Regions from separate parts of the Homo sapiens genome. Here all the other regions are linked to region 2. Evidence: promoter capture Hi-C in human tissues and cell types (Jung and others, 2019). All regions are on one chromosome and are shown on one strand. The core of a region is centred on a gene start or on the middle of the fragment in contact, and the rest is flanking DNA. Distances in the headings are between cores, read along the strand shown. Region 1 holds the start of SF3A1 (splicing factor 3a subunit 1). Region 2 holds the start of GAL3ST1 (galactose-3-O-sulfotransferase 1). Region 3 overlaps SEC14L2 (SEC14 like lipid binding 2). Region 4 overlaps MTFP1 (mitochondrial fission process 1).

Region 1 (2,700 bases), core at 136-2,635, 220 kb after region 2:
TACATCCCAGCTATCATTATTCTACATTAATAACAACCATGACACACAGCTACGATGTGTGTGGGGGGAGGGGGAAGACTTGAGAGAGCAACCTTTCCTATCACTCCCTCATTTCACAGGTGAGGAAACTGAAGTCCAGGAACAGGTTCGGAGCCAGCTCCCCGCTTTCCAGAGTTGAGGAGAGGAGGAAGGAGAGAGGGGGGAATCGCAGGAGAGGGAGAGAAGCCGGCGGGATTCGAGGTAGGCCTCTGGGGAGCGAGCCGCATAGCTTGCAGGGCTGCATCTGTGAGAGTGAGGGGTGAAGCCTAAAGCAGCAGCCCTGCGTGATGGCTCATGCGTGTAATCCCAGCACTTTGGGAGGCCAAGGCGGGAGGATCGCTTGACCCCAGGAGTTTGAGACCAGCCTGGGCAACATAGGGAGACGTCCTCCCATGTCCCTACAAAAAAAAAAATTTAAAAACTGGCCGGGCGCGGTGGCTCACGCCTGTAACCCTAACACTTTGGGAAGCCGAGGCGGGCGGATCATTTGAGGTCAGGAGTTCCAGACCAGCCTGGCCAGCATGGTGAAACCCCGTCTCTACTAAAAATGCCAAAAAAAAAAAAAAAAAAATTAGCCGGGTGTGGTGGGCGCCTGTAGTCCCAGCCACTCGGGAGGCTGAGGCAGGAGAATCGCTTGAACTCGGGAGGCGGAGGTTGCAGAGAGTCAAGATCGCGCCACTGCACTCCAGCCTGGGTGACAGAGCAAGACCTTGTCTCAGAAAAAAAGAAAAAAGAAAGACAAAGAAAGCAGCAGCCTTGATTTGAGAGGGAGGCCCCCAGTGGGGCTTGAGGGCGGGACTACGGAAGGCAGGGGATGGAAGCAAGAAAAGGCAGGTTCCGTGGGAAAAGCGAATTAAGGGCGTAGGATTTGGAAGCGGGGCTTGGAGGATGTGGGTCTGAAATGAAAGGGGGGACTAAGGGAGTAGGGAAGTGGGGCTCTTAGGCGGTGAGCCTGAGGGGACAGGGGCTCTCCTAAATGAGAGACCAATGGGAGGGAGCTGGGCTCTTGGAAGGCGGGGTCGAAGGGAGCGAGGTACTGGCCTGTGGAGTAAAGGAGCCGCGAGGTGAGTGCGGCGGGGGTCCGGCGGGTGACGTACAACATCTCACCTGTCTTCGGCGTCGCGGCTTCAGCCTTCGTGTCTGGTCGGCTCCCGGAACTGCCCCCGGTGCGCCTGCGGCCACCGGGATCCCCGAAAAGCCCTAGCCGGGCGCTCAGGCCGCTGCCTTGGCAACGGCGTCGGACGCCGCGGTGCCCGCGGGGAGGGGCGGGAAGCGCGTCACGGCGAGGGGACGGTCCCGGAAGTGCGCCAGTCGTACCTTCGCGGCCGCAACTCGCTCGGCCGCCGCCATCTTGCGAGCTCGTCGTACTGACCGAGCGGGGAGGCTGTCTTGAGGCGGCACCGCTCACCGACACCGAGGCGGACTGGCAGCCCTGAGCGTCGCAGTCATGCCGGCCGGACCCGTGCAGGCGGTGCCCCCGCCGCCGCCCGTGCCCACGGAGCCCAAACAGGTACCTCTCCCCCGCCCCTCAGCCTGCAGCCGGAGGGTTGGCCTGGGCGCTCCTTACTCGCACAGGAATAAGCGGCCGGCCGCTATGAAGGGCTTGGAGGGACTGCAAGTCCCAAGAGGCTGCGCGCTTCCCGCGCTATGGTGGTGTTCTGGTAGCGAAATGAGCCACCCTGAACGGGATTCTCTAAGTGGTCCGCGGAGCAGCCCCGTCGGCACGAGCCGGGAGCTTCTTAGAAATGTGGAGTCTCCGCCGTAGATCTTTTAAATAGGAATCTACATTTGAACAAAATCCTAAGGTGATTGATTTATAAGTGCGAGAGGCGCTGATCCAGCCCATCCTCTGATCTTATGTAGCAGTTGGGGCCGCCGGCCACAGCCTTTCCCCAGTAATGGCTAATTTCCCAGCCTGCACGGTACATCTTTGGATGTTAATTCTCAGCATCTATTTCGGTGTCTGCCCCAAGCCAGACACCGTGCCAGGCTCCCACATTACCGGAATGAATGGGGCATGGTCCCTGCCTAGGGAGCTCACAGGCTAACGAGAAGACAGACATATGAGAATGCTCACCAAATGTTTGTTGTCCCAATGGCCATCGATGATACAGTGCCAGCCCGCCCTTAATAAAGCTCTCCAATCTCGAATGTGCACAAACCATTGTAGTATGGTGTGATATGCCCTGTGATAGAAGTTTCAGGTACAAATCTAATGAACATTGTTTGCTGGGCTAGAAGGGATATTAAGGTAGGGAAGCCCACAAGAGTGAGAGGTAAATTTCTTTTAGAAGAAGGAATAGGAGTTTGCCAGGTAGGTGACTAGGGAAGGGAAATAGCATCCTTTATTCATCCAGCAAATATTTATTGAACACATACGCTGATCATTGCTTTGGGTTCAGAATAAGGGGGGCGGGGGGGGGGAACATGACTGAAGAAGCCATGCCTTTTCCACAAATATTTAAGTGCCCGTGTGTCCCTGGCATTTTCCCAGGCATTGGGGGAAAATAAGGTAATAGCCAGATAATATGCGCAAAGACACCGAGGTGAATCAAACGGTGTCTCTGATCAAGAGTAAATGAACAAGTGTTGAAGCATAGACTTAGGAGCGTAGTGGCAGGAGATGCGATTCTTACTTAGGATTTGAACTTTTCCTTGTAG
Region 2 (2,700 bases), core at 52-2,551:
ACCTGGGTCTCCCAGTGCTCACTCAGCCCCTCCCAGGACTCACTTCCCGGGGTGAGTGCTGTCGAGGGTTGGGGCCACGCTGAGGAAGTGTGGGTTTGGAATGGCTCTACTTTCCCTGAATCTAGGCACCTGAGGGCCTTGCCCTCTGCCTCTCACTGTTTGCTGGCTGTGTGGGCAGAGAATGTTTTTGTGGCAGTGGATGTAGGTCCAACCTGTGCAGGGGGAAGGCAAGAGCTTGGGCAGGCTCTGGCCTGGGGAGCAGAAAACCTAGGGCTCCCCCTCTCAGCTGGGACTGGCTGTGGGTGGAAGGAGAGGGCTGTGTGCCATTCCCACTCTGTCATGCACACGGCGATGGGAGGGAGTGAGGTTGCCTCCAGAGGCTGGGACAGAGGGTCAGGACCTCTGGAGCCAGAGCCTGCAGCCCCGGGAGACAACTCAGGCCTGTCTGGGGAACTGTGCATCCAGGGCCACACGGCTAGAGCGCAGGCCCATCAGATACGGAAAAATTCCTGGCAGCCATGCTGATGTGGAATTTTCCCCATTCCAGAATCGCCCAGTAATGGCGGGGGCAGTGGGGCTCTGACGCATCCCAGGCCCCACTGGGTGGCCAGCTGGTTCCTTACTGCCCACAGCTGGCGCTGAGGATTCCTGGCCCCTGGCAGGCATTGGTCCTCATCCATGGTCTTGCTCCTCTGGGGTGAAGAAGGAAAGGCCAGGCCTGGAAAATGAGACAGGGCCTGGATGGGACACCTGCCTCCTGGTGGCCTTGCTCAGCCCTCATTGGCACCCTAGAGAGTGACAGCTGAGACCTCCAGGTGACAGGACCAGTTGGAGCTCAGTCTCTTGCTTGAGCTCCCTCCACTCCCATGAGTGCCAAAAATGTGTCGTCCCCAGTTGGCACTGACTAGAGCAAGAAGCCGTATGATCCATTGGATCCTAAGGGCCCCAGGACCCCCCAACCAAAGTTAAGCAATAGTCCGTCCGCCGCCTTTTTCCCAGAGCCCTGGCTCCCCTCCCCACCACCACCAAGCCTGGGCATCCTCAAGTCTTCTGGGCTGGGGGCTCCGTTGAGCCAGAGGACCGGGGCGGGACAATGGCCCCGTTGGCGCGTCCGAGACAAACGGGCCTTGTTGGGCCGGCGGCGGGGGCGCAGCGTTGCGCCCCAGCGCGCTGAATGCGGCTTCTGTGCGTCTCGGGCGGGCGCAGAGGGGCCGGGATGGGGCGGGGAGGGGGCCGGCCCGGGGCGGGGAGGGGTCTGGGGTCCGGGGCGTCCATTGGCCCCGGCGCCGGAGGCTGGGCCAGGCTGGCGGCGGCACCTGGCCGGGAGCGGGCGCGGCGCGGGAGCGGGCGCGGCGCGGCAGCGGCGGCGGGGGCGGGGGCATGGACCAGGCCTGGTGGAGCGGGGGGCCCGGCCGGGTGCGCCCCGCCGCCCAGTGAGCGCCCGGGCGGCGCGGCCCGGGCCGAGCCAGCCACGCTGAGGCGGAGGAGGACGGGGACAAGGTACGTCCCGGGCTCCAGCACCCACTGCCAGCTTGAGCCCTGCCTCAGTCTACTCCCTGGGGATACCGCCCACATTACGCTAACCCCCAAACTGGGACCACGCGCCGGAGGAGGGGAGTAGGAGTGCAGTACCGCTGTTCTAAGCGCTGGGTACCCCTGCCCACTGCCAGAGGGTGGCCTGGTAGGGGCCAGGGAGGGCACAGGTTGGTGCCCCCCATGCCCTTGGTTTTTTCCCCTGTCCCCCAACCCCCCTTCCAGGGCTTCCCAGTCCCTGAAGGTGGGATGGGTGGGGCAGAAGGCAGGCTGCTGGGGCTGAGCTGGAGCTGGGAGTGCGTTAATGATTAATCTTGGACACAGTGGCCAGAGCCCTAGGGGAGGAGGGGCAGAGATCTCCCCTGTCTCCATCAGCCCTTCCTAGAAAGGGGATCAGAGCAGGAACCGGAGACCATAGTAAGGGATGGATCCCCTCTGCTGGGGGAAGGCCCTGGCCTGTACCCCAGAGGAAGCAAAGCCACCAAGGAGAGGTTTGGGAGAGTGGGACAAACCCTGGCATCCAGGAGGGGTCCTATAGGAAATCCTACAGTTCCTGTTTCCTAGCCCAGTGCCCAGGAAGGGGGTCCAGCTTGATCTGCCCCTTCGGTGCCAGGCCAGCATTTTGGTACCAGCACAGAGCACACTACAGACCGAGCCCTGCCCAGTGGGAACTGCCCCGCCCAGCTGCCCAGAGCCAGAGAGGTGATGGGCATGTCTGGCTGCTGTAACCCACACCAGGGGGAAGGAAAGGGAGAGAAGGCAGCATGCCTGACACCTGATCCCCGGGCTGCCGCGGTGACAGGTGCATGAGAATCCTCCAGAGGGGAGAGAGGTGTAGAGGACTGTCCATTCCAGTTGGGAAAACCCAATCTCTTCCTTTACTGACGGGGTGACCTGAGGCCCAGAGAGGGTGAGGCTCATCCAGGCCCACACAGGGGGCACAGGAGGGCAGTCCTGGACCAGAGCAGTCACTGTGTACGCACTGTTCCTTGTCCTGTGAAGGAGGCATTGCTACCTATCCCCATTATCCAGAGGGGGATACTGAGGCTCAGGGAAATTCAATGACTTGTCCAAGGTCACATGGCTCAGAGGTAGCTGAGCTGACTCCAAATCATAGGAGTCTTGCCCTGGCCCCCATTTCAGGACCCCAGCCCAACCCATGACCTC
Region 3 (2,700 bases), core at 17-2,516, 170 kb after region 2:
CTGCCGCCCCCACACTACCCCTCCACCATCTCTGGGCGGTGGACTGGGGTAGGGGGATGGTATGGAAGCTTTTTTGGGGAAAGGGGCAAGTGACACTTCCAGAGGCTCCTGGATGGATCTGCCCTCAGATGTTTACAAGCAGCCTCTCAGGAGCGTGCCAGCTCTGTGAAATTTCTGGAAAGAAAAGGAAAATACATCTCTTCATCTGCCCCAAGACTCCTAGGGTGTGCATGTGCATGTCTTTATGTGTCCATAAAGAAATAATAGGGCCAGTCACAGTGGTGTGTACCTGTAGGCCAAGCTACTCGGGAGGCTGAGGTGGGAGGATCACTTGATCCCAGGAGTTTGAGGCCAGCAAGACCCTGTTTCAAAAGTAAAAATAGGCCAAGGCGGATGGATCATGAGGTCAGGAATTCGAGACCAGGCTGGCCAACATAGTGAAACCCCGTCTCTACTAAAGATACAAAAAAAAAAAAAATTAGCCGGGCGTGGTGGCGCATGCCTGTAATCCCAGCTACTTGGGAGGCTGAGGTAGGAGAATTGCTTGAAACTGGGAGGTGGAGGTTGCAGTGAGCCGAGATCGCACCATTGCAGTCCAGCCTGGGCGACAGAGTGAGACTCTGTCTCAAAAAAAATAAAAATAATAAAAATAAAAATATAAAATAAAAATAACAGCCAGGTGTGGTGGCTCACGCCTGTAATCCTAACACTTTGGGAGGCTGAGGTGGGCAGATCACCTGAGGTCAGGAGTTTGAGACCAGCCTGGCCAACATGGTGAAACCCTTAGCCGGTGTGGTGGTGGGAGCCTATAATCCCAGCTACTCAGGAGGCTGAGGCAGAAGAATTGCTTGAACCTGGGAGGTGGAGGTGGCAGTGAGCCGAGACTGCACCATTGCACTCCAGCCTGGGCAACAGAGCAAGACTCCATCTCTAAATAAATAAATAAATAAATAAATAAATAAATAAATAAATCACTTGAGACCAGGAGTTCAAGGCAGCAGTGACCTACGATCATGCCCATTGCCTGGGCAGCAGAGTGAGACCCTGTCTCAAAAAAAGAAATTAAAATTAAAATAATAGGGCATAATTTGTACTTTAATATTTTAGGATATGATTCTATACCACACTTTGGGAGGCCAAGGCAGGCAGATCACTTGAGGCCAGGAGTTCGAGACCAGCCTGGCCAACGTGAAACCTAGGTCTCTACTAAAAAGAAAAAAAAAAAGGTAACCTTCTTTTTTTTTTTTTTTTTTTTTTTTTTTTTGAGACGGAGTCTCCCTCTGTCACCCAGGCTGGAGTGCAGTGGCGAAATGTCAGCTCACTGCAACCTCCACCTCCCGGGTTCAAGCGACCCTCCCACCTCAGCCTCCTGAGTAGCTGGGATTACAGGTGCCCGCCACCATGCCCGGCTAATTTTTGTGTTTTTTAGTAGAGGTGGAGTTTCACCATGTCAGCCAGGCTGGTCTCGAAGTCCTGGCCTCAAGTGATCTGCCCGCCTAGCCTCCCAAACTGCTGGGATTACAGGCGTGAGCCACCGCACCTGGCCATAATGGAATTTTCTTTATTATTTCTATGTCTGTTAATAAAATTTCTATATAGAGGGGAAAAAAAGTGTCAGAAGAATCAGGGAGGGTGGCACATGACCTGAATCACAGGAAAGGAGAGGAGGGGAAGGAATGGAAACATCTCAGGGATTGGGGCACCAGGCTGAATTTGACCCTCATGCCAGTAGAAATGTGTGCATTTCAACACCACATGCAGAGTTCTGTCATGTCACGTCTTGCAGCAGGCAGGTCTTGTCCTGCTCTTCCAGAGGAGGATCCTAGGGAAGTATTTACCCTGAACAAGGCACCACAGCCAGGCTGGGGAAGAGCTGGAACCAGGACCTGGGCTCTAGAGCCTGGTGGTGGTTTGAGGAGACTCTTGTCACTCTAGGTCAGGCTGTGCCCCTCAGGTTCCCCATGCACTCTGCCCCTCCCTCAAGTTGCCTAAACTGTGGTCTGCAGGGACCTGCCATCACACTAGGGCATAGCAGGGGCCAGGACTCTGGTTCTACACTTGGCTCTGCCTCCGACCCCCCACATGGCTGGGGCCTTTCTCACTTTTTCTTCAGCCAATTTCCCCAACTCCATCAGCAGAGCAGATTTCTTGAGTAGATGGAAAAGGCTGTGGGCCAAGGGTCAGCCGACCTGGACTCTCCCCTTTTCTCTGCCTGCAGTTCGCTCACTGTGTGGCTTGGAACAAGTCACTTGACCTCTCTGAGCCTCAGTGTCTTTATCCACTAGGAGGGTTGAGCTTATGTCATTGCCAAGGGCCCTTTGGCGCTAAAGGTTGGACACTCTAGATGCCTCAATTGCCAAGGGCAGGGTTTTCAGAGGGTGCTATTCTGTTGCCCAGAACAAGCCCCTGCCCCAGCCTCCCGCAGCCCCTCTTCCCTCACCTCGGAGCCAACGCAGGAGAAAATAGTCATCTGGATTCGGCAGGGCCGGCAGCACATCCTGGACATTCTCCCGAAACTGTAGGGAGAGGCATCGGGGTGAGTGGTAGGGCCCGCCCTGACTGCTGCCCTCTGCCTAGGACTCTCCACTGAGATCTTTGCTGGACGCCTCTTTCTTTGTTTCTTTTTTTTTTTTTTTTTTTTTTTTGAGATAGAGTCTCGCACTCTCGCCCAGGCTGGAGTGCGGTGGGCGATCTCCACTC
Region 4 (2,700 bases), core at 90-2,589, 150 kb after region 2:
GAGCTGATTTGGTGCTTGGGGCAGGGCTGAGAGGGGCCCAGGTCTGCTTCAGCCCTGTGCTCCCACCTCTCTACCTCTCTGAGCTGTTGAGGGGGATGGCCCAGGATCAGAGGAATGGCCCCCTCTAGCACTCTCGAGCCCAGCAGCTCAGGGGAAGCCACAAGGAAAACAGGCCATTCCCTGATTCTGAGTGTAAGAAGCCCCCTGGTCACTTCCTTCTCCAGGCTGCCGAGTCCCCTCATGAGGAGGTCTCATGTGACCCTCATATGGGGCTGACACCACCATCTTGGCCACCTTCAGGCTCAGGTGGTATCTGCCCAACAGGCTCCCCTCCCAGAGGGGTTGGTGCTTTAGGAGGCTAGAAAAAGAGGGCAATGCCAGGCTGAGTGCAGTGGCTCATTCCTATAATCCCAGCAGTTTGGGATGCTGAGGTGGGAGGATTGCTTGAGCCCAGGCATTCAAGGCCAGCCTGGGCAACATAGGGAGACCCCCATCTCTATTAAAAGTAAGTAAGTAAAGGGTAATGCCTACCCCAAAGGAGGCTGGCAGCACCAACGTGGGATGCCAGGCACCTGCAGGGAAGCACTAATGGGCGGGGAGACTGCTACCCATCCCTCCTCCCCACCACCACATCCCTGCTCCTCCCAAACAGAAATGAAGACATAACAACCTCTTCAGGATTTATTGGGTCAGGGAAGGGCCTGGCCAGAGAATCTGTCCTGAGGTGTCCCTGGTACTGCACTCCTGAGTTTCTCCCTGAGTTGTCTGCCGCTCCTTGTTCAGCCATACCACCATGGGGTGACTCTGTCAAGCACCTGGGGGTCCTGGGTGCCCAGCTTGCCAAGTGATCTTGGGCCTATTCCTTGCCCTCCCTGAGCCTCAGTCTCTCATCCTCCATGGGAGGATGTAATTTTCCTGAAAAAGACAGGGCCGGGCCCACCCAGGGTCCACTTCCACTCAGCATCTTGGATTCCAGGGAAGCAGACAGCGTTCAGGTCCTGCCCTTCTGTGACTCCCTGCAGCCACTGCTTCTTGAAGCCTTTGTCTCTAAGCTTCTGTCCAGCTCAAACCCACCCAGGTGCCAGGGTCTTTGGACACCAGGGAGCCAGGTGTCCACATTCCCTGGCAGGAGTAGGAGGTTGACATGAAGCAGGAGGCCGATGCACAGGCCAGGTACCAGAGTATGATCAGGAGGAGCTGGGCTTCCCCACTGTTGGGTAGAGCTTGCGCAGGCTGGAGTCCAGGAGGAAATCCACCGACCTGTAGGGAGTGGAAGGGTGGTGAGCAGGTGACCAAGGGTGTTCATGAGGGAACAGAAGGCAGAAGGCCAGGGTTAGGGAAAGGGGCGCTTAGATGCAGGATACAAATGCCATCCAGCCAGAGACCCACCCTTATCCTGATCCTTCCACCTTGGGCTACCTGGGGAAGCTAGAATCAAACTCCCAGAATAGAAGCCATCCTCTTCTTTATTCAGGAGGAAACTGAGGTACTGGGTAAAAGACTTGCTCAGGGCCTCAGGGTCAGCTATCTTCTCCTGGAGAAAGACTGCTCCTCTCACTCTTACATTGGTCTGGTTGGGTTGAGCCCATATCTAGTTCTAAGACCAAGCACGTGACCCAAGCCTGGCCAATCAGCAAAGGGAAACTGGCTCATAGGGTGGGCATGCAGTCCAGAATGGACCAATGACACCCTTCCTTGGGATTTTTGTTGTTACTGTTTAAAAGCTTCTGCTGGGGGAGGCTAAGCTGGTGGGATAGAACTTGGGAGCTGCTAGGGCCATTTCTACTCCCACAAGGAGAAAGCAGGTGAAGCCAGCAAGAAATAGGGTGGGGTGGGGAGAAAGGCAGCAGGATGGGGAGACCCAGACCCCTAATGACATAATTTGGGTACCTAGATCTAGCCATGCCTGAATGCAACACAGCCCTGGACTTTTACTCCATTTTATTCAAATATTCAGTTTGAGTTAGGCTTCTGTCACCAATACCTCCCAAAATGCATCCCCTCTAGGGTGCACCTGCTCCTGCTTCTCTCTGGTTGTTTTGTAACACTAGACTTTCTTTCTGGGAATTTACTTGTCCTGTGTCCCATACCCTCAACGCACCCCTCTTCTTTTATTGCTAAAGTGCCTGCCATACCATATGACAAGGGTACAGGCTGTCCTTTCTAACCCAGGAGCCAAGTGCCAGCCTTGTCCCTGCTATTGCTCCAGCAAAGTGGGCATACCCCACACTTCACAGAGTCTAGCTCTACCTGGAGACTGGATGATCCACTCTCATCACTGGAGAGTGGATGATCCCTGAGGCCAAGAAGGTACCCACCTGTCAATGGGGTGGATAATGATGGGGATGGTCAACAGCCCAAGCGCGGTGGTGGTCCACTTGCGGACAGCCAGGGGCCAGCGGGTGGCAGTGCCCAGGACATAGAGAGAGGCAGCACACACGCGGTTGATGGTGAAGCCCGGAATGGCCACAGAGGCTAGAGCCTGCCATACAAAGGTGTCCACCACAGCCACAGTCACCCTGGCGCTGCGGCCTGCTTCAGGGCTGGGCACCTGGTGGGCGCAGAGACACTTAATCCAGCTGGGGCAGAGGCAGAAAATCCTGCGACAAGGGGCACGAGGCTAGACCGGGAGGGGCAAGTGGCCAGTGGACTTGTCCGCACCCAGGAGTGGGGTACAGTCTGCCACATCCAGTTCGGGGA

The links. The method cuts DNA at HindIII sites, captures the fragments that hold promoters and counts their contacts. A contact is called where the count stands out against the background at its distance.
Region 1: a contact is called between the fragment with the promoter of SF3A1 here and the fragment with the promoter of GAL3ST1 in region 2, in 1 of the 25 tissues and cell types used here (heart left ventricle).
Region 3: a contact is called between a fragment that was not itself captured here and the fragment with the promoter of GAL3ST1 in region 2, in 2 of the 25 tissues and cell types used here (adrenal gland and dorsolateral prefrontal cortex).
Region 4: a contact is called between a fragment that was not itself captured here and the fragment with the promoter of GAL3ST1 in region 2, in 1 of the 25 tissues and cell types used here (dorsolateral prefrontal cortex).

Annotation. Positions count from the first base shown.
Region 1 is chr22:30,355,579-30,358,278 of GRCh38, reverse strand. It overlaps SF3A1 (splicing factor 3a subunit 1), which reads left to right and starts at 1,385. Exons shown (of 16, transcript NM_005877.6): 1 at 1,385-1,549. The coding sequence starts at 1,487. CCDC157 (coiled-coil domain containing 157) reads right to left here and starts at 1,272. Exons shown (of 12, transcript NM_001017437.5): 1 at 1,147-1,272. RefSeq lists an enhancer at 1-503 and a silencer at 1,439-1,688. The HindIII fragment of the contact is 21,616 bases long and covers 1-2,700 here.
Region 2 is chr22:30,573,266-30,575,965 of GRCh38, reverse strand. GAL3ST1 (galactose-3-O-sulfotransferase 1) reads left to right here and starts at 1,301. Exons shown (of 4, transcript NM_001318104.2): 1 at 1,301-1,500. RefSeq lists enhancers at 1,381-2,061, 2,062-2,700. The HindIII fragment of the contact is 15,540 bases long and covers 1-2,700 here.
Region 3 is chr22:30,399,459-30,402,158 of GRCh38, reverse strand. SEC14L2 (SEC14 like lipid binding 2) reads right to left here. Exons shown (of 12, transcript NM_012429.5): 2 at 2,441-2,516. Among named protein-coding and RNA genes, the nearest start is that of SEC14L2, 3.8 kb to the right of the region's middle. RefSeq lists an enhancer at 1-368. The HindIII fragment of the contact is 5,754 bases long and covers 1-2,700 here.
Region 4 is chr22:30,427,022-30,429,721 of GRCh38, reverse strand. It overlaps MTFP1 (mitochondrial fission process 1), which reads right to left. Exons shown (of 4, transcript NM_016498.5): 3 at 2,319-2,551; 4 at 668-1,260. The coding sequence ends at 1,188. Among named protein-coding and RNA genes, the nearest start is that of MTFP1, 2.6 kb to the right of the region's middle. RefSeq lists an enhancer at 2,575-2,700. The HindIII fragment of the contact is 3,204 bases long and covers 1-2,700 here.